2 separate regions of the Homo sapiens genome follow, and region 1 is linked to region 2. Evidence: promoter capture Hi-C in human tissues and cell types (Jung and others, 2019). All regions are on one chromosome and are shown on one strand. Each heading gives the region's core, a stretch centred on a gene start or on the middle of the fragment in contact. The rest is flanking DNA. Distances are from core to core; before and after follow the strand shown. Region 1 overlaps VIPR1 (vasoactive intestinal peptide receptor 1). Region 2 holds the start of ZBTB47 (zinc finger and BTB domain containing 47).

Evidence for each region. The method cuts DNA at HindIII sites, captures the fragments that hold promoters and counts their contacts. A contact is called where the count stands out against the background at its distance.
Region 1: a fragment that was not itself captured here is called in contact with the fragment with the promoter of ZBTB47 in region 2 in 1 of the 25 tissues and cell types used here (pancreas).

The regions. Positions count from the first base shown.
Region 1 is chr3:42,510,724-42,514,168 of GRCh38, forward strand. It overlaps VIPR1 (vasoactive intestinal peptide receptor 1), which reads left to right. Exons shown (of 13, transcript NM_004624.4): 2 at 3,026-3,131. Among named protein-coding and RNA genes, the nearest start is that of VIPR1, 9.8 kb to the left of the region's middle. The HindIII fragment of the contact is 3,997 bases long and covers 1-3,445 here.
Region 2 is chr3:42,652,087-42,655,456 of GRCh38, forward strand. ZBTB47 (zinc finger and BTB domain containing 47) reads left to right here and starts at 1,611. Exons shown (of 6, transcript NM_145166.4): 1 at 1,611-1,797. It overlaps ZBTB47-AS1 (ZBTB47 and NKTR antisense RNA 1), which reads right to left and starts at 2,302. Exons shown (of 3, transcript NR_125400.1): 1 at 1,908-2,302. RefSeq lists an enhancer at 1,585-2,226 and silencers at 2,232-2,591, 2,632-2,711. The HindIII fragment of the contact is 7,927 bases long and covers 1-3,370 here.

The DNA of each region.
Region 1 (3,445 bases), core at 447-2,946, 140 kb before region 2:
CAAAGAGAGAGCTCATCTTCCAGACCACACCCACTGTTTCATAAACACCACAGGCTTCGGTACCCACCCCTCCTTTCTCTCCAAACTGCCTCTAAGGAAGGGCTGTGTGTCTGTGCTGCTGAGGGGGCAGAGTTGGCTGGAGAAGTTGACCCAACACTCTTCTACCCTCAGAGAGTCGCAAGCAGAAGCTGCCAGAAATCCTAGGCGCCCATGGTGATTGGGAAACAAATATTTCTTGGCAAACTATATGGCCACAGTCCTGGCTTAAGAAGGCCCAGAAAGTGAGGGCGTCCATTATCTTGTCCTCAGAGGGCAAGGCTGGACACTTTTGTTTACAGCGACCAACAGAAAACTCAACTGATCCAAGCCATAAAGGAAAGGCATCAGCTCATGTTGCTAGCAGTAGAGCTGGTTTCAGGCATGGCTGCATTCACAGACCCAGACAATATTAAGAGAACCTGATTTTTCTCCATCTCTCTATTCTGCCTTCAGCTGTATAGTTTTTATCCGTGTGTTCCACTTGTCAACAAGAAGACAGCAGAAGCTTGAGCCCTTGCTTCCTTTAAGGTTTCCAGTCCAGTGGGGAAAAACCAAATTCACTTTCTTAATCACTTAATCCAAAGTCCCAGGAGTGAGCCTCCTGGCTCTGAGTAGCCTGACTCAGGCCATGTGTCAGGCACTGTGGCCAGGAATGCTCTGATGGACTTAAGCCTTGGTCACATGTCAATCCCCTGGAAGAGGGTTCATCAGAACTCCATGAACTAGAGGTAGGGAAGGAGGTTGTTTCCCAGACACAGATGAGGACATGGCACCAGAAGAGAGTAAAGGATGGTGGAAGGCAGAAACAAGAGATATCTGCTACCATCCATCCTGTTTTGACGTTACAGTGTTATGAGAGATAAGAATGGACAGGAGAATCAGGAGACGCTGGGAAGGGGCCAGAAAGCAGAAAGAACCCTGTTGCTGGTGGGAGATGGGGTTGGGATGGTACCTTGGTGAGAAATGTGCTCCAAGACAGGCAAGACAGACCAATGATGGGACACAAGGCAGGGTAGCCAGTACCCAGATTCCTCTTCCAGAAGCCACCTCTGAGATCTTCCTGGCCACTATTCCCCCTATACTTGAGGATGAAACAGCCACAAATCCCTTGAGACAGAGTGTCTTGAGCATTTCAGCCTGAGTAACCCTTATGGGAAGGAGAGAAAGCACATGACCCCAAAGAGGAACCACAGACAGTTTCCTTGAAGTCTCCTATCTTTTAACAGTTATACGAGTAACTGTATCATGCTCCATCACACAACTGTGTTACTTTCAATAAGTTTTAAATGACTTACCAGCTAATGTCTTTACCCCCATTGGCTGGTAAAGGTGCAAGATGGAGCTCGTGCTCACTGTGGCTTCCAGGGCAACAGCACTTAGGCAGGTGAGGTCTGGATGCTGGGGAAATCTAAAGGAGTCCTGGAGAGGGAGGCCTTCCCTGGACCTGGACGAGGTCAACCATGGTGCTAGCTGCTTCTGGGAGTGTTGGCCTGCAGGTGACCTGTGAGACAGAGGCTCCACCAGAGAGCCCTCAACAGGAATGAGAGAGCTGTTTGGGGTGGAAAGGACTTGGCTGTGCAGCTTCTTAGGCACTGAGTTGTTCAGCTTCAGCTTGGACCCCTCTCCCTCCGCAGCAATGGATTGCTGGCTGCCAGCTGGGATGCACATCCCAGTAAATGGAGCTGATTTACTTAAAACAATGGTCAAAGTACTAAGCACTTTGGTGCCTGCAGGCCAGGAGGGACCCCCTTAAAGGAAGGTCCCCCACCTATGTTCTTCCCACGGACCCACTTCAAGAATCTCTAAGTCGGCAGGGGAGGTGGTTGAGGCCCACGTAGCCTACAGAGAAACTGAGGCCCAGGGAGGTAAGGACCCTGTCCCAGGGTGGGAGGGACAAGCTGGAGGAGACACTGAGAATGTCTGATTCTGGAGTGGTCTTGCTGGACTCTCTTCTATGGCCCTGGTGGAAACTGACATTCTTCTCCCAGGCAGAGATGAGGAAACTGGTGTGGGGTTGCCGGGGCCAGCAACCACTTTTCTAAAGCCAAAGACGCAGAAGGTGCTGCCAGTCCAACGCTTCCTCCATGGAGGCCTTCACCCACCCACACCCATCTAAGAGTTCCCAAGACCTGTTTTTTCTGGCTATTCCTAGACAGCCATCACCCCCACTCACATGTCTTCCACAAGGTCAGTGACCCCAGTCACACTGGTCTGGCCCACCCCTGATCCCTGGCCAGGGTACAGGGAGGGGAAGAGGAGAAGCTTGGACTTTTCCATCCCTTCTCTTCACCTTCCAGAAGCAGGGGAGGCCTGGTGGGATCCTAGAGGGGCTCTCTTACTTCCTTAAACCTCCCCACCCTCAGTAGATCTGGTATAGCTTGAATTATTTAGAAACTAAAAAGGAGGCAGGTGAGGTCTGGGCAAGGAAGGCCAGAGTCCCCTCCCTAGCCTGGTGACCCAGGGGACTGAGCACAGAATCCTGGAATGACAGAAGCTGGAAAATACAGCTAGACTCCTGGATTCTTCCCAGGGCTGGCCCTGGGAACCAGAGGCCAGGATCCAACTCCACATAACAGAGTAGTAGCACGAGCTGGCCCCACTCATCAGGGAGATCAAGACAGGGACAGACTCTCAAACCAAGCTGGAGAGTGGCAGAGTCCAGAGGGCCAGCTCAGGCCTCTAAGGGGAGGCCCTCTTGCCGCCATCTGGAGTTGTGCCACCCGCAAAGAGACAAAGCAGTTACAGCTGCAGCACTAATGGGGGAGCCATCAAGAAGCTGTGGCAGGGTCCTCGGGGCCGACCCAGGTTTGGGGGCAATGGACAACAGGTTGGGGTCAGGTTCAGGTTTCAGTCTTGGGTTGGTATTGGGGTTCCATCTGGAACTTGGATCTCTTCCAGGGAGAGGGCAGGTGCAGTCCAGAGACTGGGCCTGGTGCTCCTGAGTCTATGGACGAGGCTGATGGGCCCTCCCTGTCTTTGTTCTCAGGGCGGCCAGGCGGCCAGGCTGCAGGAGGAGTGTGACTATGTGCAGATGATCGAGGTGCAGCACAAGCAGTGCCTGGAGGAGGCCCAGCTGGAGAATGAGACAATAGGTGAGGCCCCCATGGGCAGAGAGGGGCTGCATGCCCCCAGGGAGCCCAAGATTCCTCATGTCTCAAGCTGAGATCCAAGTCACGTTCGTTCCACATTTATTGGATGATGGTGAGGAGCGGCTGGGGAGCCAGATGGAAGAAGAAAGGGGCTAACAGGCTTCCACATTCCCACCCCAGGTCTGGGGAGCTCCCAGCCGCAGCTAAGGAGGACATACTAAATTGGGGTTCTGAAAAGTACATGGAGCCAACTCTGCCTCTGGGGGTCCCTATCCCTCTTCTCCAGGAAAAGTGAAGATCTCCATGGCGGCCAGCCC
Region 2 (3,370 bases), core at 361-2,860:
CCTTGACCTCCCTGAAGTGAAGCTCCTACTGCATGCCCCTCATCAGGACCAAGAGAGAAATTCTGCCTCTGCCTAGCTCCACCTGTTCACTCCCACCAACCAGACAACTCCTGATCGATAGGAATCTTGACTCCACTACACCAAATCCCCTCTAGTTCCCTGCAGATGCTAAATTGTCTCCACCTCCTGGCCTTTGCAGGCTTTCTGTCTGGAAAGCCCTTTCACTCCCTCATTGCTCTAGTTAATGTTCAAGTTCAAGCCTCAGCTCTGAGCAGCCCTGTGGGCCCACCAGACAGCTCTTCAAACCACTCCTTCCTGCCAGGTCCAGTGTTGCCAGGTGCCCACAGCTGCTCACAGAGCTCAGGCTCTGCCCTGGGACTCCCCAGCTGATGAGCTGCAGGCCAGAGAAGCAAGAGGGGAACAGCCGAGGCCTTCAGGGAGACTGAGTGCCTCCCCACCACCTGTCCCCTCCCTTCTCACCCAACCTCCAGCCCTTTCTGCAGCTTGACTGCTGGAGCTAAGGCCCCAGCAAGGCCCCATAGGGCCAGCATCACTACCTCAGTCACGCTGGCCACACCCTCTGTCAAGCTTTGGCTTGGCAGTGGGCCTAGCAATGTCCCATGCAGCTCTCTCTGCCAGGCTTCTTCCAGCCCGTGGAGGGGTCCCTTCTCCCCACCTCCCCTTCCCCTGGCTCCTGATGCTGATGCCTAAGTGATTTGTCCCGCTCTGAGCCTCAGAGTCCTTATCCAACCAATGGGCACACAGCCCCTCCCTAACTAACTCCTGGGCCGGTGCTAGGATCCACTGTGAGTCAGATGAGGAAGTGGGCTGGGGAGGAAGAGGCAGAAGGCAGCCCTCAGCGGGCTAGCTGGTCAGAAGCATGTAAGCTGCTCTGGCCTGGCCTTAACCTGGGGCCTCTGGGAGCTGGGCCAGCTGTCTGTGCACCCATGCAGGTACAGGATGTCTGCAGCAGCTGCCAGGGGCTTCCAGATGCCCCAGGTTTGGCCCCTGAGACATTTTCTCCCTAGCTCTGGGATAGCCTTATCCTGAGGCCCTACGTATTCTGGCAGAGAGTGGGGGTGGGGGAGGAGGCCCTTGCAATCTTACAGGACAGACCATCAGGCTGTTTCACAGCACCTGCCTAATACCCTGGTCTCTCCTCCATTTCTCCTCTGGCACCTAGAACCAAGTCACCCTGAGCCAGCGCCAGAGTTCCTGCCCACTCGTGAGTAGGACAACATACCCAGGAGATACTGCTGCAGCTGGACATGGACTTGTATGTAAACACAAGCGCACATATGTGGGGAGGGGTGTGGAATATCAGGATGGGGGCAACATGAGAGTGACCCAGGATGGGCAGTAGTGAGCTTGGGGTAGGAGGAGGGGATGTCCACAGAGGCCTCTCCTCTACAATGGTGGCCCAGTCACCATCCAGACCTTGCCAGGTCTAGTGCCCCGTGGTCCCCACCCTGCTGCCTGCTCAGCCTGGCAGCCTTCCTTTACAGCCTCCTGCCAACAGAGCCAGCCCCCTGCCCCCACGGGTGTCCATGCCAGAGCAGCATTCCGCAAGCCTGGCTGCATCTCCCCAGCAGAGGCTGAGCAAGGGGGCCACTCAGCAGTGGTCAGGTCACACGGCTAGAGGGGCACAGTGGGGCCTGGGCCTCTGGTCCCTACTCCTCTGGTCCCTCTGTCTCCTGGCCCTGGGCCAGTCACCTTAGATGATTTGATCGCTGCGGTTGTAGTCCTGGGATTTAAATCTCCTGCCCTGGGTGGCCCTATGCAGCATGAGGCCGCCAGGTAGGTATGGGTCCACTGGAGCCAAGTCCTGGAGGCACAGAGCAAAATGAGCCCTGCGCCGCCCTGGGATAGGGATGGGGGACTGGACCAGTTGGGGACCCCAGACTCACCCCCAGGTCAGAGCAGCCCAGGCGAGAGGGTGGGGGTGGTGAGCGCGGCTGGGGTGCGGGGTTCAGTCCCTCAGCGTGGGATCCCTCAGGGGAGCGGGTGGAAGCCTTTTCTGTTCGGATCCGGGGCCCGGCGCGCTCAGCTTCCTGATTTCACGGCAGCTTCCTATCCTGGCTCCCCCTCCGTGGCGCAACCGGAGGGCAGCGATGTTTGACTCCCGGACGAACTTCCCGGCAGAAAGGAGGCTCAGCACGGGAGGGTGGGGCCGGGGTCTATCTGCTCGGATATGAGCAGTGGGGACGGGCTGGGGGCTGGAGCTGGGGCTGGGGGTGGAGGGCAGCCTGCGGCAGGGCGGGCTGCACGGGGACCGCGCACACCACGCGTGTCCGCGCCCCCCGCCGGCACGCAGGCGGCCTGGCCCTTTAAGCGTCCAGACGGCGGCCCCAGCTGACGCGCGGGCTCCAATCGGCGCCCCGCGCCCCCCGCCCGCCGCGCCCGAGGCTCTGGGGCCGCAGCTGCTTGGCGCTGGACTCGCCGCGGCCCTGCGCCTCCGCCTGCCTGGCCGCGCCCCCGGGGGCCATGGTCGCGGGGCCCTGCGCGGGGGCGGCCCCCAGCGCGGCGCTTCATGGAGCGGCCCTGGCCTGGCCGCCGGGGGCAGCGCGATCCCGCGGGGCCCTGTGAGCCCCCAGCGCCACGGCACCATGGTACGCAGGGCCCTGCCTGTCCCCCCGCTTATCCGCCCACCTGCCAGCTCTGACCTCCCAGGCACACGGCCCGCGGGCCCGGGTGGAGGGGCTGGAGGGATCTTCCCCCCTCCCCCGGTCTCCCGGCTCCATCTGCTGGGTCCCGCGGGCCGGGAATGCGGCGCTGTGGCGCTGCTCTCGGTGGGGAGGGGGTTAAATTCCTGTGGTGGGGGCGCCGGCGCGCGAGGCTGAGGTCTTGCTAGGCACCGGCGAAGGGGGGCGCTCCCCTGCGCCCGGACGGCGCCGCCCTCGGGCTGGGTAATGGGGGGAAGAGGGAGTCGGATTCCCGCCTGGGCCTTGGGCCACGTGGGCGCTGGAGCCGCCCTGCCTGGGGATTCGGGATGACCCGGGCCAAGGGGGTGTGGGAGGACACCCAGAGCTCCCGTACCAACTCCTGTGTGACCTTGGGCAGATCCCCCGCCCTCTCTGGGTCTATTTCCAAGGGAAAGAGGGGAGGTAAGTGCACAGAGGAGGCTGGCATGGACACTCCCTCACCAAAAGGAGGAGCCTAGAGGTCATGAGCCTGTGCCCCCTTGCTCAGTCTGGGCCCCCCCACTGCTGCCCAGCATAGAAAGAATTGACATGGGAGGGGGGCGCAGATGGACTCCCCAGGTTTCATCATGGGGCCTTCCAGGGAGGCTCTGAGGCAGGGTAGAGAGATGAGGCTTCTCATCAGTGAGGCAAGGTACCCCTCAGGTGTAGAAGGCTCTGACTTGGGTGAG